Regions from separate parts of the Homo sapiens genome. Here all the other regions are linked to region 5. Evidence: promoter capture Hi-C in 16 types of primary human blood cells and fetal thymus (Javierre and others, 2016). All regions are on one chromosome and are shown on one strand. Each heading gives the region's core, a stretch centred on a gene start or on the middle of the fragment in contact. The rest is flanking DNA. Distances are from core to core; before and after follow the strand shown. Region 1 has its middle 15 kb from the start of KRT17. Region 2 overlaps KRT17 (keratin 17). Region 3 has its middle 10 kb from the start of KRT16. Region 4 has its middle 3.6 kb from the start of EIF1. Region 5 holds the start of KRT20 (keratin 20). Region 6 holds the start of LOC124904004 (a long non-coding RNA gene). Region 7 has its middle 7.4 kb from the start of LINC00974.

The links. The method cuts DNA at HindIII sites, captures the fragments that hold promoters and counts their contacts. A CHiCAGO score of 5 or more calls a contact.
Region 1: a fragment that was not itself captured here is called in contact with the fragment with the promoter of KRT20 in region 5 in 14 of 17 cell types (activated CD4 T cells, naive CD8 T cells, total CD4 T cells and 11 more); the score reaches 20.3 in activated CD4 T cells.
Region 2: a contact is called between a fragment that was not itself captured here and the fragment with the promoter of KRT20 in region 5, in 5 of 17 cell types (activated CD4 T cells, naive B cells, naive CD4 T cells and 2 more). The highest score is 8.1, in activated CD4 T cells.
Region 3: a contact is called between a fragment that was not itself captured here and the fragment with the promoter of KRT20 in region 5, in 2 of 17 cell types (total CD8 T cells and non-activated CD4 T cells). The highest score is 5.6, in total CD8 T cells.
Region 4: a contact is called between a fragment that was not itself captured here and the fragment with the promoter of KRT20 in region 5, in 3 of 17 cell types (naive CD4 T cells, total CD8 T cells and naive CD8 T cells). The highest score is 8.9, in naive CD4 T cells.
Region 6: a fragment that was not itself captured here is called in contact with the fragment with the promoter of KRT20 in region 5 in 15 of 17 cell types (activated CD4 T cells, naive CD4 T cells, total CD8 T cells and 12 more); the score reaches 22.2 in activated CD4 T cells.
Region 7: a fragment that was not itself captured here is called in contact with the fragment with the promoter of KRT20 in region 5 in 13 of 17 cell types (non-activated CD4 T cells, total CD4 T cells, M1 macrophages and 10 more); the score reaches 14.6 in non-activated CD4 T cells.

Annotation. Positions count from the first base shown.
Region 1 is chr17:41,637,656-41,640,865 of GRCh38, reverse strand. It overlaps the pseudogene KRT42P. Among named protein-coding and RNA genes, the nearest start is that of KRT17, 15 kb to the right of the region's middle. The HindIII fragment of the contact is 3,640 bases long and covers 75-3,210 here.
Region 2 is chr17:41,618,713-41,622,100 of GRCh38, reverse strand. KRT17 (keratin 17) reads left to right here. Exons shown (of 8, transcript NM_000422.3): 4 at 347-508; 5 at 1,010-1,135; 6 at 1,222-1,442; 7 at 1,543-1,565; 8 at 2,413-2,659. The coding sequence ends at 2,507. Among named protein-coding and RNA genes, the nearest start is that of KRT17, 4.2 kb to the left of the region's middle. The HindIII fragment of the contact is 2,565 bases long and covers 81-2,645 here.
Region 3 is chr17:41,601,028-41,604,128 of GRCh38, reverse strand. No RefSeq gene overlaps it. Among named protein-coding and RNA genes, the nearest start is that of KRT16, 10 kb to the left of the region's middle. The HindIII fragment of the contact is 9,356 bases long and covers 1-3,101 here.
Region 4 is chr17:41,683,746-41,686,875 of GRCh38, reverse strand. No RefSeq gene overlaps it. Among named protein-coding and RNA genes, the nearest start is that of EIF1, 3.6 kb to the left of the region's middle. The HindIII fragment of the contact is 6,365 bases long and covers 1-3,130 here.
Region 5 is chr17:40,883,762-40,887,168 of GRCh38, reverse strand. KRT20 (keratin 20) reads left to right here and starts at 1,927. Exons shown (of 8, transcript NM_019010.3): 1 at 1,927-2,373. The coding sequence starts at 1,984. All of the region lies in intron 1 of LOC105371777 (a long non-coding RNA gene), which reads right to left. The HindIII fragment of the contact is 977 bases long and covers 1,029-2,005 here.
Region 6 is chr17:41,654,005-41,657,031 of GRCh38, reverse strand. LOC124904004 (a long non-coding RNA gene) reads left to right here and starts at 1,898. Exons shown (of 2, transcript XR_007065756.1): 1 at 1,898-3,027. RefSeq lists enhancers at 2,087-2,783, 2,784-3,027. The HindIII fragment of the contact is 2,956 bases long and covers 1-2,826 here.
Region 7 is chr17:41,560,406-41,563,433 of GRCh38, reverse strand. No RefSeq gene overlaps it. Among named protein-coding and RNA genes, the nearest start is that of LINC00974, 7.4 kb to the right of the region's middle. The HindIII fragment of the contact is 7,476 bases long and covers 1-3,028 here.

The DNA.
Region 1 (3,210 bases), core at 645-3,144, 750 kb before region 5:
TACCACAGGCAGGGCAGGATGACTTCTCATGGCAGGGAGGCTTTGCCCAGCCAGCTTTTGGAGTCACCGAAGCTTTATTGAATCACTAGTTACTACAAGGCCTGTGACAGCTACATATTGACTCATTTAATCTCATGAAGAGTTTGTTACAAAAGTCTAGTCCTGGCTGGGCTTGGTGGCTCACACCCATAATCCCAGCACTTTGGGAGGCTGAGGTGGGTGGATCGCCTGAGGTCAGGAGTTTGAGACCAGCCTGGCCAACATGGTGAAACCCAGTCTCTACTAAAAATAGAAAAAATTAGCTGGGCGCGGTGGTGGGCACTTGTAATCCCAGCTACTCTGGAGACTGAGGCAGGAGAGTCGCTTGAACCCAGGAGGCGGAGGTTGCAGTGAGCCGAGATCAAGCCATTGCACTCCAGCCTGGGCAACAAGAGTGAAACTCCGTCTCAAAAAAAAAAAAAAAAGTCTAGTCCTTTCATTCTGCAGAGGAGGAGGGTTTGAGCCTAAAAGAAGAAAAATGACTTGCCCAAGTTGGGCAAGAGTCCAGATTTGACCCCAGGTTCTTGGACTTGGAGCTCTTTGCATGACATCATAGAGTGTGATCATAGCTAACACAATGCCTGACCCTGTGGTTGTGAAGATTAGAAACTCTGGTCCCTCTCCATGAAACTTTGCTGAAAAAAGTGCGTCAACCAGAAACACTCAATAACAAGGCTCCCAGGGACCCTGGGTTCTGAGGCAGAGATGGCAGGGACCACAGTGCTGCAGGAGTTTAGTGGAGGGAGCTTGCTCCTGGCTGGCTGGAGGGCAGCTCAGCTTCCTGGATGGAGGAAGCAGGCCTGTATGGCGGGCTGGGGCTCAGGCAGAACACTCCATGGAGCCCAGGCCTCTGCAAAGGAATGCTCCTGCCCTGTTCTCCTGTTTTGCCCTTGGAAAGGATAGATGATGGCTTGCTCTGGTCCTCGTTCCCTGGTCCTCCCTCCCCTAGTCCTCTCTCCCTTGGTTCTTCTCCCATAGCCCTTCCTCTGCTGGTCCTCCCTCCCCCAGTCCTCCTCCCCTGGTCCTCTTTCCCCTGGTCTTCCTACCCTAGTCCTCCCTCTCCTCATGCCCTTCCCCTGGTCCTCCTTCCGCTGGTCTTACCTACCTAGTCCTCCGTCCCCTCTTCCTCCTCCAGCAGTCCTCCCTGCCCTGGTCCTCCTCCCTCAGTGCTCCCTGCCCTGCTTCTCCTCCCTTGTTGGTCAGTCAGGTGTGTCACACTGTGGTGGGCTGGGTGGTCAACACCAGGACAAGGAGTTGAGAGACCCCCTTCACATCAGGGAGAAAGAGCTCCTATGTCAAGGGAGCCCCCAATCTGAGGGGGAGACATGGCTGCTACCTTGAGGAAGTGTCCAATTTAAGGGAAGAGACACAGTCTCTGTTTTGGGGAGCCTGGCCTCATCTGCCCCTGGAGAAAGCCACTCAAGAGCATTGCAGAGCAGGCGCGAATGAGCGCTCATCAACAGGGAGAAACCAGCCTCCCCAGGGCGCAGGGAGGGAGGAGCGAGCTGGTAGCTGGGTCGGGGAGGGAGGTGCAGCTGGGGGTTTGGGGTCTGCAGGGTGGGAAGGAGCCTGGAGTCCCCTTGGTGTCTCTGACTCCCATTTCCCCAGGCCCTCAGGTTGCCCTCAGCCAGGCTGCAGGGCAGAGTGGAGAGGGGGTGTGAGCCTGAAAGGGGAACCCACTGGAGTTTCTGCCTCTCACTCACCCCTATGCATCTCTCAGGCCAAGGAAGCGGTGGGGGAAGTGAAAAGAGGGAGGAAAAAGAGGGAGGGAAGGGCAGAGGGAGGGAAAGACAGAGGGAAGGACAGAGGGACGAAGCCGTCTGGTCAAGACTCCTCTCACAGGAGTCTTCACCCTGTGAGAGGCAGTGAGGTGTCCCACGGGTGACCCCCGAGGCCTGGGTTTCCTGTCCGTGATGTCCTCCCCACTCATTCCCACTGGTCCCCAGCCTTCCCTCCCTCCCTCCCTTGCTCTGTCCTCCCGCCCTGGGCCTCATCCGAGGCATTCAGTCCTCTAGGCCCTCTTTTGGGAAGGGCCCCTGGACAGCTGATGTGCTGCCTGGAAGGGTGGGGTGTTCCTGGGTGTCCGTATCCTACGTCTTGGATCCGCCACAGGCTGACAGTTCCTGGAAACCAGTCAGAGGTGAGTGAGGGGTGCAGAGGGGAAGAAAGGCTGGGTCCACTTACCCCTGGGTAGGGGAGCCCCTGGCCAAGCCCTGGGTATACAGGGGGTGCTGGGGGATCCCCTTACCTCTGTCTCTTCAAACTGGGGCAGAGGCTCAGGGCACCCAGCAATGTTCCGAATCTCCCAGGGCCCTGGGAAGGTGGAGGGTGGGAGGATCTGGGTGGGGCCGCCTGGGGCCTCAGGATAGAGGCAGGAAACAGAATAGAGGAAGCAGGATTCCACCTGTGGAGGCGGCAGGTGTGGCTGGGTGAGGGTGCACTTCTCAGGCGATGCTGGGCCAGGGGTGGGAGTGCCTGGGGGTGAGCGAGGGGCAGGAGATCTGTGACCTCCAAGGGCCCTGCAGGTGACAGGGGCTCTGTGTCTGAGGGGTGAATGGAAAGGACCCCAGTGGGTCTTAGTGACAGGGGACTAGGGGTGGAATGAGGGTCTCTGGGGTTCTCTCCTCATCAGCGAAGCCAAGGTCTCAGCTGGGAGCCCGTTCTGGGCTCCAGGGCCTCTCACTTTCCCTGACCACCTGATACTGACCCTTTTCCTTGAGGGGAAGGGTAGGTGGCCATGTCCCTTTCCTGGGACCTTGTCTCCTCCCCAGTCACTGCTCAGGCTCCATGACCCTAACAATTCAGCAAGCACTCACAGAGCACCTGCTGCATACAGCCCGCGCTGGTTCTGGGCAGGGGTGTGGGGTATGGGGTGGGCACCATCCTAAGGGTTGACAGTTAATCCTTGCGGGGGCTCGTAGGAGCCAAGGCCAGCTGGGCAGACGGGGCATGACCTTGTCTTTTTGTTTTTTCTTTTGTTTTTTTGAGATGGAGCCTCGCTCTGTTGCCCAGGCTGGAGGGCTGTGGGACGATCTCAGCTCACTGCAACCTCCACCTCCCGGGTTCAAGCGATTCTCCTGCCTCAGCCTCCTGACTACCTGGGATTACAGGTACTACCACGCCTGGCTTATTTTTGTATTTTCAGTAGAGTCGGGGTTTCACCATGTTGGC
Region 2 (3,388 bases), core at 114-2,613, 740 kb before region 5:
CTCCCTCATGAGGGTGGGGGATAAGTAAGGAAATCTTGTCCCATTTCAAACTCTCAAAGCTGAACATCTACATAGAAGCTTGGAAATTAGAGGGGAACTTTTGGGGGCATAGGCCTAATAATTAGATTTTATTTTGGAGAGTCCTTGGTCTAATGGGGGAGATAGAGTCTGATGGTGGAGGCAATACTGAGCAGATGAATAAAAATCATTTAGAGGGTCAGATAGAGCAGAGGGAGAACAAAGGAGGGGTCCTTGTGGGAAGTGGGGTCCCCTTGTGGGGGAAGGCTTGGGAGTGAGAGGTCAGGATGGGTCCAGATGCGCACATCCACATCCCCTTTTTCCATAGGAGATGAACGCCCTGCGAGGCCAGGTGGGTGGTGAGATCAATGTGGAGATGGACGCTGCCCCAGGCGTGGACCTGAGCCGCATCCTCAACGAGATGCGTGACCAGTATGAGAAGATGGCAGAGAAGAACCGCAAGGATGCCGAGGATTGGTTCTTCAGCAAGGTGGGGGGTGCTGCAGGCCAGAGGGCTCTCTTAGGGGCTGGGGCTCAGGGGCCTTAGCACTGACAGTAAGCCCACGGCCAGATGTCTTGGAGGTGCCCCTCCTCAGTAAGCTGCATGGACCACAGGGTCACCCACTGCATCAACAGACATGGAGCTGAGCTCAAGCTGGGATCTGGCGGGTGGGTGGGGAGGTAGGGAGCTCCCTCAGAATAAAGGCAGAGGGTAAAGACCTTGGGAGTCCCCACGTCTCCCTCAAGAAGTCAGGAACTAGCATCAAGAGCCAGGCTACATGTTCTGGCTTGTTCTCAAGTTTCCGGTCTGTGCCTCCCACACGCTGGGATTAACCATAAAAAGTTAACATTTCAAATGGCATGTTTCTGGGCTTTGGGATGTGGGAAGCTGGTGAGAAGGCACACTCTCTCCACAGTTAGATTTGGGAGGAGGCCTGACTTGGGAGAGGGATCCAGGCTCACACCGCCCTGTCCTGTGTCCTGTCTGCAGACAGAGGAACTGAACCGCGAGGTGGCCACCAACAGTGAGCTGGTGCAGAGTGGCAAGAGTGAGATCTCGGAGCTCCGGCGCACCATGCAGGCCTTGGAGATAGAGCTGCAGTCCCAGCTCAGCATGGTAGGAACAGTCCTGTGCATGGGGGAGGGCCCAGAAGAGGGCATTGACCATCCTCACTGACCCCTGGTCTTCCTGCCCTCCTGCAGAAAGCATCCCTGGAGGGCAACCTGGCGGAGACAGAGAACCGCTACTGCGTGCAGCTGTCCCAGATCCAGGGGCTGATTGGCAGCGTGGAGGAGCAGCTGGCCCAGCTTCGCTGCGAGATGGAGCAGCAGAACCAGGAATACAAAATCCTGCTGGATGTGAAGACGCGGCTGGAGCAGGAGATTGCCACCTACCGCCGCCTGCTGGAGGGAGAGGATGCCCAGTGAGTGGGGGCGCCTGGGGTCAGGGCTGGGGGTCTCTTGGCAGGGGTGGGGCTCTCAGACCCACATCTAATTTCCTCTCTGTTTTTTTTTTTCTTTCAGCCTGACTCAGTACAAGAAAGAACGTAAGTATCTGCGTGGCTTCGGCCCTGGGGGTTGGGTGCATGGGACAGGCAGCCCACCTGCACGTTGCTGGGGCAGGGTCCCCAGGAGCTCCAGGAGTTGATGGCTGTCCCTCAGCAGGGAGAAGTGACTCATTAGCACTGAGGATTGATACTCAGGAAAAGATCAAATGAGAGAGACACTGTCTGGTCTGATGGGGGTGGGGCAGGGAACTGGTCCTTACCTTGGAGATCCTAGTCTGATGGAGGAGACAGGTCCCAGCTCTGGAGATTGTCATCTGATGGGAAGATAGGAACATGGTCTCATGATCTTTGCTCTTGACAGCTTTTGGATGAGCAAAAACAGTCCTGTCTCTGGGGTCTGTAGCCTGATGGGAGATAGGGACATGGTCCTTGTCCTCCAAATTCCAATCTGATGGAGAATATATGATCCTAGCCTTAGGGTTCCTAGTCTAATGGAGGAGATAGGGGCCTGGTTTTTGTCTTGGCGATCCCAGTCTGATGGGGGAGATGGTAGAAAATCTATGTCCTAGAGACTGCAGAGAAATGGAGACGGATTTCATGGAGTCTACATGGCTCCTCCCTGGCAGGACACACTGGATCAGAATCAAATAACCCATCTGGGGAGGCAAGACTCACACAGGGCCACCGGCAGAGGGATGGGATGGAAGGGAGGTGGTGGCAGGGACAGGAGGGATGTGTGTGCAGTGTGATGTCGAGGTGCCAGTGGAGGCACTCACAGCACCTGGGGGAGGATGAGGGAGAGAGCCGGCTCCTGTCCATGAGGGCTAGGGGGCAAGCGAGGGCCTCCTGGCCCCTACCCACTTTAAATTGCCTGCTTCTCCTGCAGCGGTGACCACCCGTCAGGTGCGTACCATTGTGGAAGAGGTCCAGGATGGCAAGGTCATCTCCTCCCGCGAGCAGGTCCACCAGACCACCCGCTGAGGACTCAGCTACCCCGGCCGGCCACCCAGGAGGCAGGGAGGCAGCCGCCCCATCTGCCCCACAGTCTCCGGCCTCTCCAGCCTCAGCCCCCTGCTTCAGTCCCTTCCCCATGCTTCCTTGCCTGATGACAATAAAGCTTGTTGACTCAGCTATGAAATGTGTCCTTGTTCTGGCCCCTGAAGTGGGGACTAGGGACAAAAGGGTGAAATGGGAAGGAGTGAGGGTGAGGGGAGATGGTGCTTGGAGACCCACCGTTGTTGATTGGCAGGTCAGGGGTCAGCTTAGACCGGCATAAAGAGTAAGTCTGGGGAGAGTTTGGAAGGGGGTGCTTGCCTCTCCCAAGGGCTGGAGATTTTCAGGGGGTGGTCCAGGCTGCGCTAGACCTGGGGTGGAGTTGGTGTATCAGGTGCGGTCCTAGGTGGCCACTGCTTGCCCTGTGAGTAGCTCTGTGACCTCGAGAAGTTAGGCAGTCACTTCCCCTCACTGAGCCTTGCTTTCTCATCCATAAACGGATGGGAAGATCTCAGGTGTGGGAGCCTGAATCCTCAGAGATGACTCACTCAATCAGTTGTTCCTCCCGGTCCTGTGGGCCGTGCCCTACCCCTAGATGGGGCAGGAGGTGGGCAAGGGCTGGGATAAGCACAAAGGGAGGGTGGGTGGGGGAGGCAGGCTGGGTGGTTGGGGCCCAGACTCCTGTGTGAGTCTCAGGAAATCCCCAAGAGAGGCCCCCATTGCCTCCGCCCTGGGAATGTGAGTGGGAGGCTGGCGTTTTCAGGGAAGGCTACGGACCCCAGGCAGGTGTGGGAGAAAGGGTGGGGCCTCTCTCAGGGATGCTTCCTCACATGGTCAGCTGTTGCTCGGGATGGGGACGGGGTGGAGTG
Region 3 (3,101 bases), core at 582-3,081, 720 kb before region 5:
TCAAGCGATTCTCCTGCCTCAGCTCCCACAAATATTTTTGATTATTTCCTTAGGCTAGATTCCTAGATGTATACTAGATGAGAAGATACAGATGTTTTAAGATTCTCGATTTGAATGGCCAAATTGATTTAAAGAGAAATTGTGCCAATTTGCATATCTTGCCAGCAGGGAATGGGAGTGCCTATTTCAAAACATGCTCATCAACTGTGAGTATTATCTTTAAAAACCTCTTTGGTAAATTGATTCAGCTGATTCTTTTAAAGATGATGTTGTGGAAGGACCCTTACACAGAGACATAGTCCTGGCCTGGGTTACTAAACAACTCCTGGGCTGGCACACACTTTCATGAGTTGTTCATTAATGAGATGTCAGAACAGAGGATGTAGAATACCCTCCAACTGGGCATGCGGTGCTATTTTATTTTATTTTATTTATTTATTTATTTATTTTTTGAGACAAAGTCTCACTGTCACCCAGGCTGGAATGCAATGGTGCGATCTCAGCTCACTGCAACCTTTGTTTCCCAGGTTCAAGCAATTCTCATACCTCAGCCTCCTGAGTAGCTGGGACTACAGGTGTGTGCCACCACACTCAGCTAATTTTTTTTTTTTTTTTTTGTATTTTTAGTAGAGACAGGATTTCACCATGTTGGCCAGACTAGTCTCAAACTCCTGGCCTCAAGTGATCTGCCTGCCTTGGCCTCCCAGAGTGCTGGGATTACAGGCGTAAGCCACCATGCCCAGCCTGGGCATGGGTGCTATTTTAAAGAAGTTGTCTGTACCCGTATCTTCCGAGTGCCTAACCCCCAGGAGCAGATCCTTGGAAAGCTCATCACGAAAGGCCTCTACCTGACAGATGCAGAAATTCAGGTTTACAGTAGTTAAAGGAAAATTAAAAAAAAAACTTTCTTGGGGTCTCACAGTCACTTAGCAAAACTCCCGGAGAGCAGAAATCACTTATCTCTTCTTCATTGCTGTTATCTTGTAGAAACAAATCATGAGCCCCTTTTAAACAGAAGGACAATATTGTGCAGAAATATGAGTTTTCCCTTCAATAAGGGAACCAGAATTTCCATCTGGAAATGGCTTGCTGCCTGGATTTCTCAAACTATGATTCAAGCCCCAAATCAGACTGCCTTTTGCTCTTGCCTGGTCTTTCCCACTTCCTAAGATCCTGGCACCTGAGCTGAGAAGGTTGAGAACTCCCAGTGTTCCTTGAAATCTGTCTAATTTGAAGGTACCTTCAGATTCCTTATGCTTGACTTACTGTCAAAGTTCGGCAAATATTGTTTTAGATAATTGCATGAGGTGCAAAAACAATGACTAGAGTGAGAATTAATGGCAGCCCATAAAGTGCATCTGCTGTTGTAAATGAATGAGTGGTATGCTTGTAAAGCTCTGCTTTCTTTGGGTCCATTGTTTCTGAGAGCTCTAATAAGCTCAGTGTCCCTCCTAGTGTATGAGATAAGCAATTTCTTGTGCTTGTCTTTTCACTGCTGTAGCTTGTTGTTTAAGACCTTCTGTCTGCTCCCCGAAACATAAACAGTAATGAAACTTTTGTTTTGCTAGTTACCAACAGCCCCTGGATGGTACCCAGCCCATAAAGGACACTCAGTAAAGACTTGTGGAGTCAGGCCGTGGAGGTTTGGTTTAGAAGTCTCTGCTCTTTCAGGACTCCACAGAACTTGCTCAGAAGAATTTCTTGAGGGCAGGCTTCTCTGGGTTCCATGTGCTTCTCATTGTGTTGGCACAGGGAGGTCTCCATGGGTAGGTATTGACAAGCTGGCATGGATGTGAAAGCAAATATCTTCTTGAGCCCTGGAGGGATGGAGCCCCATCTACAGAACTGAGGCATGAGGCAGTGGAGCTCCTTATCTGGCCCCTCCTCTGATGTGCTGTCTGCATCCTGGAATCCCCAACAGTCCAAGACCCCCGAAGGGCTTTGAGCAGATCAAGGGGTGTTAAAGCAATAGTGGCAGCTATCCAGGAGACGCCATTTCTGACTTCACCCCTAGTTAACACACTGTTGATTGCAAGGGTCCCTCTTTCTCCTACCATGTTAGGATTGTTACACATAAAACTCATGCGTCGGCCTGGTGCTGTGGCTCACGCCTGTAATCCCAGCACTTTGGGAGGCCTAGGAGGGAGGATCACCTCAGGTCAGGTGTTTGAGAGCAGTCTGGCCAACATGGTGAAACTCCATCTCTACCAAAAAATACAAAAATTAGACAGGCGTGGTGGTGCGTGCCCATAGCCCCACTACTTGGGAGGCTGAGGTGGGAGAATCGCTTGAATCAAGGAGGTGGAGGTTGCAGTGAGCCGAGAGTGTGCCACTGCACTCTAGCCTGGGTGACAGAGTGAGACCCTGTCTCAAACAACAACAACAAAAAACAACAGAAAAAATCCCATACGTCTCTAGCTTTTATCTACCATATGAATAGTGTGACGAAACAAAAGGAAATATAGAAAATGAAAACACTCATCCATTGTTCTGTCACCAGACCTTTTATTCTACCAGGTTCTTTTCCAGCTTTGTTATATGTGATTATACAGCAAAGATGACTTTCAAATTATTTAAGGGACTTCACTTAATTTTAAATTAATAGAAATAACAGACCAGTATAAAAAGGCATATGTGCAAAGATATTTACTGCTGTTTATTTGTAGTGACAGAAGGTGGCAAACACATTTTTAAAAGTTGATAGTGGACAGGTGGAATAAATAATGGTCCACTGCTACCCTGGAGTATTAAGCAGCCATTATAGTCAATAAATTGGAGCTATTTATTGGATGGCAAGGAGGGATTCCTCCAGGGATTGGAGAGAGAGAAATGTGGAATGCAGAAATGTACATGTAGGATATTGATTTCACTTATGTGAAATAAACAGCCAACCCCTCATCCCTCATTTATGTAAATGCATGTGCATGTGTCTGTGAGATTATATAAGCACCAACAATATGAAAAGATACATACAGAGTTATGAACATAGATTACTGTGGGGGTGGGGTTGAAGGCTGATGTGGGTGGCAGTGGTTGAGGGGAAAAGGGGAGCCAAGAAAAACAGGAAAGGAACAAAAAGAGTGCACACACATTTTAATACA
Region 4 (3,130 bases), core at 145-2,644, 800 kb before region 5:
CTGAGGGAGGAAATGCTAGGTGTACCTGATATATATATGTGTATGTGTGTGTATATATATATATATGTATATGAGTGTGTGTATATATGTGTGTGTGTGTATTTGTGTATATATGTATATATATATGTATGTGTATATATATATATATATAGACAAGGTCTCACTCTGTCACCCAGACTGGCTGGAATGCAGTGGCATGATCATGGCTTACTGCAGCCTCAACTGCTTAAAGCAGTCCCCCTGCCTTGGCCTCCTAAAGTGCTGGGATTACAGGCAGGAGCCAGTGTGCCTGGCCTGATACTTTGTTTTGATTCTATATTTACTAAATAAACTTGATTAATAGTTTGGTTTCCTTGACATCAGGAAGGAGGAACCATGGCTAGGTCATGGGCATCCCAGTCTCATGGTCTTCCCCTTTTGAGAAGCTAAGGCCCCAGTCAGCCAACTTGGGAACCTTTACTATCAGGCAAAATTCACCCCCGACATTTCACGTAGGTTCTTCTCTATTTTCCTTAAGTGTTGGCTGGTCCGAGAAATAAAGGGACAGAGTACAAAAGAGAGAAATTTTAAAGCTGGGTGTCCGGGGGAGACATCACATGTCGGCAGGTTCCATGATGTCCCCCAAGCCGCAAAACCAGCGAGTTTTTATTAGTGATTTTCAAAAGGGGAGGGAGTGTACGAATAGGGTGTGGGTCACAGAGATCATGTGCTTCACAAGGTAATAAGATATCACAAGGCAAATGGAGGCAGGGCAAGACCACAGGACCACAGGACCGGGGCGAAATTAAAATTGCTAATGAAGTTTCAGACACACATTGTCATTGATGATATCTTATCAGGAGACAGGGTTTGAGAACAGACAACCGGTCTGACCAAAATTTATTAGGCGGGAATTTCCTCGTCCTAATAAGCCTGGGAGCGCTACAGGAGACCGGGGCTTATTTCATCCCTCAGCGATGACCGTAAAAGACAGCTGTCCCCAAAGTGGCCATTTCAGAGGCCTCCCTCAGGGACGCATCCTCTTTCTCAGGGATGTTCCTTGCTGAGAAAAAGAATTCAGCGATATTTCTCCCATTTGCTTTTGAAAGAAGAGAAATATGGCTCTGTTCTGCCCGGCTCACGGGCAGTCAGAGTTTAAAGTTATCTCCTTTGTTCCCTGAACATTGCTGTTATCCTGTTCTTTTTTCAAGGTGCCCAGATTTCATATTGTTCAAACACACAAGCTCTACAAACAATTTGTGCAGTTAATGCAATCATCACGGTCCTGAGGCTACATACATCCTCCTCAGCTTATGATGACAGGATTAAGAGATTAAAGTAAAGACAGGCATAGGAAATCCCAAGGGTATTGATTGGGGAAGTGATAAGTGTCCATGAAATCTTCACAATTTATGTTCAGAGATTGCAGTAAAGACAGGCGTAAGAAATTATAAAAGTATTAATTTGGGGAACTAATAAATATCCATTAAATCTTCACAATTTATGTTCTTCTGCCATGGCTTCAGCGGGTCCCTCTGTTGGGAGTCCCTGACATCCCACAACACTTTGCCCTGACGGACATTGTTCTGCTGGAAAGGGTTTTGGGAGAGAGTTTGAATGAATGAATTGGAGCTGTCCTTCCCAGTGTGCATGCAATATTTTGTCACACTAAAATATTTTTTGAGACAGAATCTCGCTTTGTCGTCCAGGCTGTAGTGAAGTGGTGCGATCTTGGCTCACCACAGCTTTCACCTCCTGAGTTCAAGCTATGCTTCTGCCTCAGCCTCCCAAGTAACTGAGATTACGGGCAGGTGCCACCATGCCCAGCTAATTTTTGTATTTTGGGTAGAGAAGGGGTTTTACAACATTGCCCAGGCTGGTCTTGAACTCCTGACCTCAAATGATCCGCCCGCCTTGGCCTCCCAAAGTGCTGGGATTACAGGTGTGAGCCACAACACCCGGCCAAGACTCAGTTCTTTTTTTTTTTTTTTTTTTGAGACAGGGTCTGGCTTTGTCACTTAGGCTGGAGTGCAATGGTGCCATTATAGCTTATTGCAGACTTGAACTCCTAGGCTCAAGTGATCCGTTTCAGCCTCCTGAGTAGCTGGGACTACAGGCATGTGCTACCATAGCCAGCTAATTTTTTAAATTTTTGGTAGAGATGAGGTCTCACTATGTTGCCCAGGCTGGTCTTGAACTGCTAGGCTCAAGTAATCCTTTACCTCGGCCTCCCAAAGTGCTGGGATTACAAGCATGAGCCACCGCACCAGGCCTGAGACTCAGTTCTTGACTTGCCACCAGCTTTGTGGGTGACCTGGTTTACCTCTTGGCTTCAGTTGTATGCCCCATAAAAGGAGCACTGGGTGATCTCTTCCTGGGTCTGAAGTCTGAAGCGCTGTTTTCCCAAGTTGGGAGCATTTCCAGAAGGGTCTTCCGAAGTCTACCTTCCAGTGTGGGAGGTTACCCCAGCCCCAGGAGCCTGAGGAGTAATCATGGAGGCAGGAGTAATTAGTTTGAAAGTGGCATGCATGCCTGCTGTTAATGCTGGCTTCTTTATTAGTGTGCTCCTGGCTTTGAGATGCTGTCACCTGGGCAGCCAAGGGCAGGGTACAAAGCACAGGCTCTGGAGTGTCTGTATCTGAATATCATCTCCATCTTGTTGCCTGGGCGACTTAGCCCCTCCCAGCCTGCATTTTCTCCTCTGTACGACAGAGACAATAATGCCCTTCTCATAGGCTGTTGAGGGGATTTAAAGAGGAGACTATGTACAGCCGGATAAAAATGTAAAGTTATGAAACCACTATATAGATTATACCAGTTTCCCAGAGGGGAAGGGAGAGAGAGAGCCTCCGAGAGCAGCAGGGGACAGGAGTGAGCCCCTCTGAATGAGGATGGGACAGAGGTGGGCACCTCTCCATGGTGATCTCCTTGGGATGTGACAAGGGCATGGCTGTGTAGGACACCTTGGGACCCTCGACCTCAATAAGATTCTCCAAGGCCACCAACGTGGCACGGAAGCAGCAGAATCTCCCTCCAGGAAGGGATTGCACCCTCTGGGAAAATAGACATCTCCATGGTAACCAAGGCAGATAGATGATCTGGTCTAGGGGCTCCTTGTAGCTCTGGTGCTCTAGAAAACCTTGTGAGCGAG
Region 5 (3,407 bases), core at 678-3,177:
ATAGTATAATTTTCCAATGACTTTAATCTAACAACCTCCTACCCCATTAATCAACACCAAAAACAATTCATCTTTGAATACATGTATAAAGAACATAGTTCATGTGTTTATAAAAAGTTCTTCTCTGCTACAGAGTTTAGCTGTGACATCTATTAACAAAGTAATTTATAACTCTAATAAGTTAGCAAGGTCTTCTTGCTACCAGTCCAGTCATTGGTGGTGAGTACTCAGTATTGGCTGATGAATACATGAATGGATAAAAATATAAGAGCTGCCCACACATATACCATAAAATGCATAAAATAGATTCCATTTTATCTCAATTTTTATTTCTGTGATATAACTAAGATAAAATCAAACACAATGTATTATTTTAAAGTATACTGTTTATAAGAGAGAAATAATATGATCTGACCTTATTTTAGAAGAAAGTTGTGTGTAAAAGAAATTTAAACTCAAAAGTAAAAAAGCCACTGGTTTCTAAAAACTCAAAAAAAATTTTTTTTAAGTGACTGGCTTTCAGAACAACAGCAACAACAAATAAGCCACTAAAATAAGACAATTAAATTCCAATTTTTTTTGCATTTACTTGCTTGCTTAATTATATACAAATCTCAATTCCATTAAAGTATCAGGATGACAATTAATTAGATGTTTTTAGTGACTTTTCCAATCCCTTCTAATTAACTTGGAAGTGATTAACTGATTATCTAATTATATTAATTAGTGATTATCTAATTAACTAAGGAAGTGATTTACATGCTTCATGGGAAGTGTGAATTCTCAGCCAGGGGGTTTGAATGAAGGGAAGCAAGTGACTCAGGCATTTATTGGTTGCTTACAATCAGATTCCCACCGATGAGATCATGCCCATGTGTCTAGAGGTCCACACACAAGCAGCTGCCTCCAGCCCAACCCTGGAAGCTGAGTGTAGTCCCAAGTCCCCGCCTGCACCCCTTCCTATATAAACAGCCACTCTCGCTGTGATTATGGGGGCATACAAGGAAGATCAGGCTTCCATGGAAGCTTCTGCAACTGAAATCCACTGGGGACTTTAGAAGGAGCACCTGTAAGTAGCTTCAGGATGGATGGGGCAGAGTCTGTCTCATGGTGGGTGTTAAGCTGGCCTCATACAAAAGAGGAGACCCATCCTGATACCATGCCAGGTACAAAGCACTGTGTGATTTATTCTAAGTGTCTTGGTAACAGGACTTGAAGCCAGGTGGTGACTGGAAACCTAAAATGCAATATTTAGTCATAGAACATTAGAAATAGAAAGAAAATAACCTCCCAAATCATCTAATCCATCACTCAGCTAAATTCATTTAATTCACATCCCCAAACTACATCTCCAAATGTACAATGGTTTCATTCCTGGTTTAGGGATTCGAGGTTTTGTGTTTGTACAAAATATTTTAATAGTCTTATAAAATAAGATGTCCAAAACACAATAAACTTAAAAGCCAAACACAAGCAAAGCATGAAACAGAGGTTCTGAAGAGCAACTCCTCAATACAAATCAAACATTGTCCTTTATCTCCATTGTGACTTTCAGTTATGTAGGCACATCTGCCTTTTTAGATACCTAAATTATACATGAGGATTGTAAATATTCTTTGTGTGTATGTTAGGATGAAAAAAACCTGCCAAGGCAGGCGCATGGGCTAAAAGAATACACTTTCCTGTTTCCTTTTATTACCTGTTTAATTAAAAAAAAAAAAAAGTTGCCCCTGATAAAAGCCTCCAAGAAATGCCTCTAGTGGTATTTTCTGGAATTGAATTAAGCATATTAACATATTGCTATACAAAGCGGGGGGCGTGGAAGTAAGGCAAGGTGGACTGTGGTGCCAATCCTAGTGACATGTCAGCAGAGGAGGAGTTTCTTGCCTGTGGACTTCATAAAAGGCTAGCTCAACACCCTCCATGAGACACACTCTGCCCCAACCATCCTGAAGCTACAGGTGCTCCCTCCTGGAATCTCCAATGGATTTCAGTCGCAGAAGCTTCCACAGAAGCCTGAGCTCCTCCTTGCAGGCCCCTGTAGTCAGTACAGTGGGCATGCAGCGCCTCGGGACGACACCCAGCGTTTATGGGGGTGCTGGAGGCCGGGGCATCCGCATCTCCAACTCCAGACACACGGTGAACTATGGGAGCGATCTCACAGGCGGCGGGGACCTGTTTGTTGGCAATGAGAAAATGGCCATGCAGAACCTAAATGACCGTCTAGCGAGCTACCTAGAAAAGGTGCGGACCCTGGAGCAGTCCAACTCCAAACTTGAAGTGCAAATCAAGCAGTGGTACGAAACCAACGCCCCGAGGGCTGGTCGCGACTACAGTGCATATTACAGACAAATTGAAGAGCTGCGAAGTCAGGTGAGAGATGATGCTTGTGTTTCCTACTCTGTGTTTAGCTTCAAGATAAATCAAGAGGTTATCTATGTTAGGTAGGTCCAAATGGACTTTGTAAAGCAAATTAGGCTAAAATGTTACATCTATAAAAATTCTTTCATCTACCTTTAGTGCTGGAGTACCTGACTGTACAACAGGATGACCTTAAATCATGCTATTTTTAATGTTTAACACAATTACATACAAAATATGAACATTTTATCCTCCGGAATAAAATGAATCTTTGTCACAGCTTATCACATCAGGGCTAAATGTATAGTGAACAATCTTTCTGAAAAGAGCTAAAAATTAATTACGTGATAAATCTCTCTTAGTTTTTCACCTAGTCCTTATCAAGTTTTGAAACCCCAGTAAATTCAAAGACTTTTCTCCTTTTATTTAAGTAAATGTTATAATATGACTATTAGAATACTGTACTGCAGATTTAAATAGCAAAGTGATTCTGGGTGGAAACAGTGTGGCAGGAATATGGGTCTTAATGATGCCTGGATTTTTAAGTGCCCTGTTTAATAACATGACCATCAGCATCAAGCAGTTCAGAAACTACTTCTACAGTAATAAAATGTTCTATTGCCCCCAATTCATGTTTATTACAATCATATCACAACCTCCTCCTATGTCATCAAAAAAAGGGTGGAGCTCTGTATTTTATCAGTTTCATGGAATAAAAGCAGAAGACTTTGCTCCTAATTGAAAATTTCAGATATGACACAGAGCACTTGCTTCAAATTAAAGTTCTTATCTAATTAAGAAAAGTGTTCACTGTAATTTGTGTTAAGATTCATACTCCTTTAGAGCAAAGCGCATTTACTTACCAGCAAGTCTGTTTTTCTTGAGTTGTACTAAACATCAGGGCAATTTGATTCGGACTCCATGGGAAGTTACTTTGGAATTTTAGAAACTATGGGCATGTGAAGCAATGGCATTTAAATAGCCCTTCCGGAATAAAGTTCATCCTTCGCAAGCTCTCACTAAAAATGTTCGAACCACACCTGTCT
Region 6 (3,027 bases), core at 99-2,598, 770 kb before region 5:
GTGTCTCTCATATCCCGAGACGCAGACCCTGTCAGGGAAGGGGCATGTGGCAGCGGGGCAGGCATGCCTGTGCCAGGCTGGGGCCACCAAGCACTGGTGGCAGCATAGACCTTGGGGTCTCTCTGTGCACAGCAGGGCCACCAGCAGGGCCAGGGCAAAGGTCTTCATGGTGTGGGAACTGCTCATTCTCGCTCTCTCTGGCCGGGCTGCAAGGCAAGTGGTCCCTTCCCCTGCCCCGCCATCTTTTGGCCTCACCTTCCTCCCTCCCCATGGAAGGCCCACACTCCTGTGTTCCTTGTGGCACTGCCTGGTCACAATCTCAAGTCCTCTTCCTTTCTTCCCTACCTGCACCCCCCACCCCCTAATTCAAGCCTCGGCGTCTCCACCCTCCCCAAGCCATCCCTGCCCCATCAACGAGGGCCAGCTCTATGCCCCTGATGACCTGCCAGCCTCCTGAGCCAGGCTGTGCACTCTCTGACTGCCAGGCCAGCCTCTGTCCTGCTTCCCCTACTTCCTGCTCAGAGCCGGTCATGCTGAGGCTGCGATGGAGACCTGGGAGCAGGAGGCAGCAGGGGATTCCTTGGGCTGTGGCTCTCATCATTGCTGAGAGAGGGAGAAAGGGCCCGGCCATTCCTGACCACAGCCCTGGGCTCCTGCACTCAGCCGGGCACTCACTGCATGCCAGCCTCAGACAGGGCAGTAGGGCCGCCTGGATGTGTACTGAGCCCTTCCAGCCAGGGCTTCAAGGCCGGGTCACAACTCCCGGCTCAGTGCCCAACTCCTCAACCCCTCAGCATCCACCTGCCCAGCTCATGACAGGGAGGACAAAACAAAGGAGGCCCCTGTGGGACTACACAGGCCAGCTCCTGACACTATATAGGTGGGGAAACTGGGGCCCAGAGAGGGGCGGTGACTTGTCCAAATTCATGGGCCCAGAGCTGGGCTCCTAGGCCTCTCTCCCGGGCGGCCTGAGTTAGGCCGTGGTGCCGTCAGTCCCGGAAGGTTGGGACACCCACGGCAGTACCTGACTTGCCGGGGCCCAGCCTCCAGCCCACAGCCCTGCTTTGAGCAGCAAGGGAGGCTGCCCCGCCCCCAGCGTCTCCTCCTGCCTGACTGAGTTTCCCAGAGCCAGCAGAAAGGCAGGGCCGATGCAGGTCTGAATCCGCCCAGGGATCTGGCAGTCCCAGCTGGCTTGCCCTGCCCTCGAGCCCTGGGAGCGGGAAGTGAGCCTCCCCACCTCAAATCCTCCACCTTCCCTGCCACCCACACCTTCAGCCCGGGGCCCAAACATGGCAGGGAGCCAGGCCCCTCACCTCCCTCCTTGGTAACCGAGGCAAACACCCAACACTGGAGACTGTTTGTCCTGCCAACGCTGCACCCCAACCTGAGCCCAGACGCCCTGCCGCAGTTGGGAGAAGCCTGGCTGGGGGAGGGGACGTGGCAGGGGCAGCCAGAACCTGTGGGCTTGGGGACCCTTCCCCTCCACTCCAGTTCCCCAGGAGCTTCTGAGTGAGCACAGGGCAGCGGGGCTGTTGTCTCAGCACCTTTGACTGTGAGGCCCCCAACCTCAGCCTCTGCTCCACCCCTAAGACTGTGCGCCCGGAAGGTGGAGAAGGGCTGGCTGGGGTGAGAGGGTCTGTGCTTGAACTACAGCAGAGAAAGAGAGCAGAGGGAGAAAGTTCTCTCTGGCCAGCCCAGCTGTGGGAGGGCTCAGGGAGGGAGGCCAGTGGGCCCTTTCTTTGCAGGCAGGGAGGGATGGGAGATTCTACCAGCGCCAGACCTGGGGGGCTCTGCCTCCTGATCCCCAGGGTCTGGGTGGGCACCGTGAGGCACTCCAGCGTCGCGTTTGGGGGCTGGCTGGGTGGGCAAGGAGGTGGATGTCAGGGCCTGGGGAGGCTGGGGTAAGGTGGCGCCAGGAGGGGACGGGCAGTTTTTCTGGCCTTCACTGGCCTGTGGTTTCCGCAGTGCAGGGCATGGGACTGTGGGGCGATGGAGCAAGGAGGATGGAGTTTCTGTCCCTGGGAAGCCTCTTGTCTGAGGGGAGACATGCCCCGAGCCTTCAGGGACCGCCTAGTCGGAGGGGGAGACACAGCCCTTGTCCTGGGGAGTTTGGAATAACCGTATTGGGGCCAGGGACAGAGGATGATGGAGTCACCCTGCTCTGCATGGAGCACGGGACCACCCGGCCTCACGGGGCTGGGCAGACGCTTCTGTTTCTTCTGCATGGAGCACGGGATCACCTGGCCTCATGGGGTTAGGCAGACGCTTCTGTTTCTTAGGAAGAGGTCTGTTTGCTTCTCAAATGCTTCCCGGGAACCTCCTCCACCACTGCAGCCCTGCACTGTGGGCAGGAATGTCACTAGCCCCCTTTTACGGATGAGGAAACTGAGGCTCAGGCATCTGGGAAAATGTGCTGTGGGCAGCCCCCCCGGACAGAGCTGTGCTGGCACCCTCCAGACAGTGCAGGAGAAGGGCAGGTCCCACAGAGTCCCTGCTGTTCCCCCAAGTCCTGAGGCCAGGGGGTGCTGTCTCTACTCTCAGTCCCCTGCCAGGACCTGTCCCCTGGTTCAATCCCAGGCAGGCCAGCGGGGAGGGTGGGGTGGGAGACTTGGTTCTGCTGAGGCTGCAGCTTCCCTGGCCCACCTAGGCTGAGTCAGGGCTGGGCAGGAGCCGAGGGCAGCAGCTTTCCCAGGGCCAGCCCGGGCGGCGTCCGCATTCCTCACTTGCAGGGTGCGTCTGGGCTTGGCTGAGCCAGGTGTGCTGTGCCCCACCCAGGCCCCCGCCTGCAGCTGAGCCAGCTCAGCGCTGGGGCCTTGTAAGGAAGCTTCTGGCAGCCACCAGGAACGGGGTGTGGGAACTGCTTGGCTTGCATGTCCTTGCTGGGTGGGGTGCAGGCTGGGGGAGATCAGCCTGCTAGAGCCCAAGCTCCCACAGTGGCCAGGGCAATTGGGGTGCCCACTCCTCACCCCCTCCTCACACTCTGCTCTTGCCTCTGCAGTTGGAGAGCTGGAGGCCGAGGCCCCAGGC
Region 7 (3,028 bases), core at 69-2,568, 680 kb before region 5:
GCAACTGTTTACTCTTCTCTGGTTCTTTTTCTGCTACCTGCTGTCTTCCTCATCTACCATTTTACATATCTTTTTATTTATTTTATTTATTATTATTATTATTTTTTGAGACGGAGTCTCACTCTGTCGTCCAGGCTGAAATGCAGTGGCACGATCTCAGCTCAATCCAACCTCTACCTCCCGGGTTCAAGCGATTTTCTGCCTCAGTCTCCTGAGTAGCTGGAACTACAGGCACCTGCCACCACGCTGAGCTAATTTTTGTATTTTTAGTAAAGACGGGGGTTTCACCATGTTGGCCAGACTGGTCTTGAACTCTTGATCTCAGGTGATCCACTTGCCTCGGCCTCCCAAAGTGCTGGGATTACAGGTGTGAGCCACAAGGCCTGGCCCATTTTATGTATCTTTTCTCTACCTCAATTTGGGAAATTCTCCACCTTAAGTGTGAAGCTCCCCAAGGGAGAGGTCAGAAACTTGCTTTTCCGAGCTCACCTGCATCTAGGGCATGGGCCCCTGACAGCCCTGCCACTCAGGTGCGCCCGCACAAGACGTTTTTTTTTTTTTTTTAACCATGGCACCCCATTGGAGTGAAGGACTTTGATTTTGATTTAAAGGAGGTGCTGAGTGGAATTTTTTATGGCAGGAACAAGGTTGGGCAGAGATATGTGATTTTTTGAGGAAGCAATAGCAGCGGCTCTGGCAAAGACATGCAGTGCCCATCATCCATAGTTTGAGCTTCAATTTTGGTGGCCAGAAGTGACAGCAGTGGTGTGTTCCTAGAGCAATCCTTGAGTGTGATTTGGGGAATTTTTCTGTTTGCATACCCTCCAAGTTTGATTCTCTGCACATCCTGGAAAAGATGCCCAGTAGTTGCTCATTATTTCACAGGGAATACATTCAAAGATCCTGACTGGATGCCCAAAACTGTGGATAGCACCTAAATCTATCTACACTATGCTTTTTCCTACACATTCATACTTAAGATACAGTTTACTTTATAAATTAGGCAGACCAAGAGATTAACAACAATAACTAATAAAATAGAATCGTTATAACAATATACTGTAATAAAAATTATTTGAATGTGGTCTCTCTCTTTCAAAATATCTTATCATACTGTAGATCTTAGCAACCTCAGCGTATGGTTTTTTTCTTTCCGTAGTAAGTTTTGAACTGTCATCTTTTCTCTTAAAGAAAGCATTTTGCTGGCTGGGCGCGGTGGCTCATGCCTGTGATCCCAGCACTTTGGGAGGCCAAGGCTGGAGGATCACCTGAGGTCAGGAGTTTGAGACCAGCCTGACCAGTATGGAGAAACACTGTCTCTTCCAAAAATACAAAATTAGCCAGGCATGGTGGCGCATGCCTGTAATCTCAGGTACTTGGGAGGCTGAGGCAGGAGAATCGCTTGAACCCGGGAGGCAGAGGTTGAGGTAAACCGAGATCACGCCATTGTGCTCCAGCCTGGGAAACAAGAGCAAAACTCCTTTTAAGAAAAAAAAAAAAGCACTTTGTGGCTTCCCTTTGGCAAATCTGAATTATCAGCATCACTGCTCTTGCACTTTGGGGTCGTAATTAAGTAAAATAAGGGAACACAAGCACGGCAATACTGCAACAGTTGATCTGACAACTGAGACAGCTACTAAGCGACGACTAGTGGGTGGGTGGTGCATAGAGCATGGAGAGCTGGACAAAGGGATGATTCCTGTCCTGGGCTGGACAGAGTGGGGCAGTGTGAGATTTCATCATGCTCTTCAGGGCAGCACACTTCAAAACTGACAAATTGTTTATTTCTGGAATTTTCCATTTAATATTTTTGGATGACAGTTGACCACAGGTAACTGAAGCTGTGGAAAGCGAAACCATGGATAAGGGGAATGACCGTGTTGCTTTCTCTGCAGGTGAAAGCATATTTATTCTGGTACTCTTTGTTTATTGGGATAAAGAAAAAAGAATTTCCCACAGCAGGTGCCAGGGTCAATGGTGATCTGCTTTAGAAAAGGGACACAATCTGGATCAACGACTGCTGTTGGAACAACCATGTGATAAATTGTAAAATAATTCATGGCTATTCTCTAACATCTGTTCATGTTCTGCACAGAAAAACTAGGCAAGTTAACCCTAAATTTATCATTTTTTTTTTGAGACAGGGTCTCTCTCTGTTGCCCAGGCCGGTGGGCAGTGGTACAATCACAGTTCACTGAAGCCTTGACCTCCCAGGTTCAAGCAATCCTCCTACCTCAGGCTCCCAAGTAGCTGGGACTACAAGCGTGTGCCACCACGCCAGACTAATTTTTGAGGTTTTTTTTTTTTTTTTTTTTTTTTTTAAACTAGAGACAGGGATCTCACTCTATTGCCAGGGCTGATCTTACATTCCTGTGTTCTCTCCCCATCTTGCCCTTCCAAAGTGCAGGGATTACAGGCATGAGCCACCACTCCTGGCCCATCAAATCTTTCATGTGGCACTAATCTCTGTCATTCCCTTAGAGATGTAGTGTTGCTGGTCCTTTTTCTAAACCACGTAATCCTTACTGGTAAGGATCAGGATCCTTTTACTGACTATGTCTAGTCCACTCCAGACACTGGGAAATAACCACAGGATTGGTCTGGGATACCACTGGGCTCATGAGAAGCAAACTTGGGCTAAAACTCCATTTGTCATCTGATCTCTATATTGGTTAGATTCTCAATTGCAACTACCAGAAACTACTTTGCCTATTTTAACAAGTAAGGGATTTTCAAGAGCTCTAGATACCTTAGAGAATCATTAGGAGGGCTGGAGAAACAGAATCTAGGGTGATTTTTCCAGAACCCTCCAAATGACAAAGCAGAGTGGATCTGCCAAAGGAGTTGTTGCCTCTGCCAAGACCATGAAACCACCAAGTCAGATTGGAGCCTTCTGAGTCCATTCTGCACTAATTCTGGACTCAGCTGGAGTTGCAGAGCCACGCTGCTTCTGCTGTCCATACCAGTAAGCTGGATGTCCCAGGTGAACCTCATTTCCTCACCTACTTCCCTTCTAAACCAAGTCCAC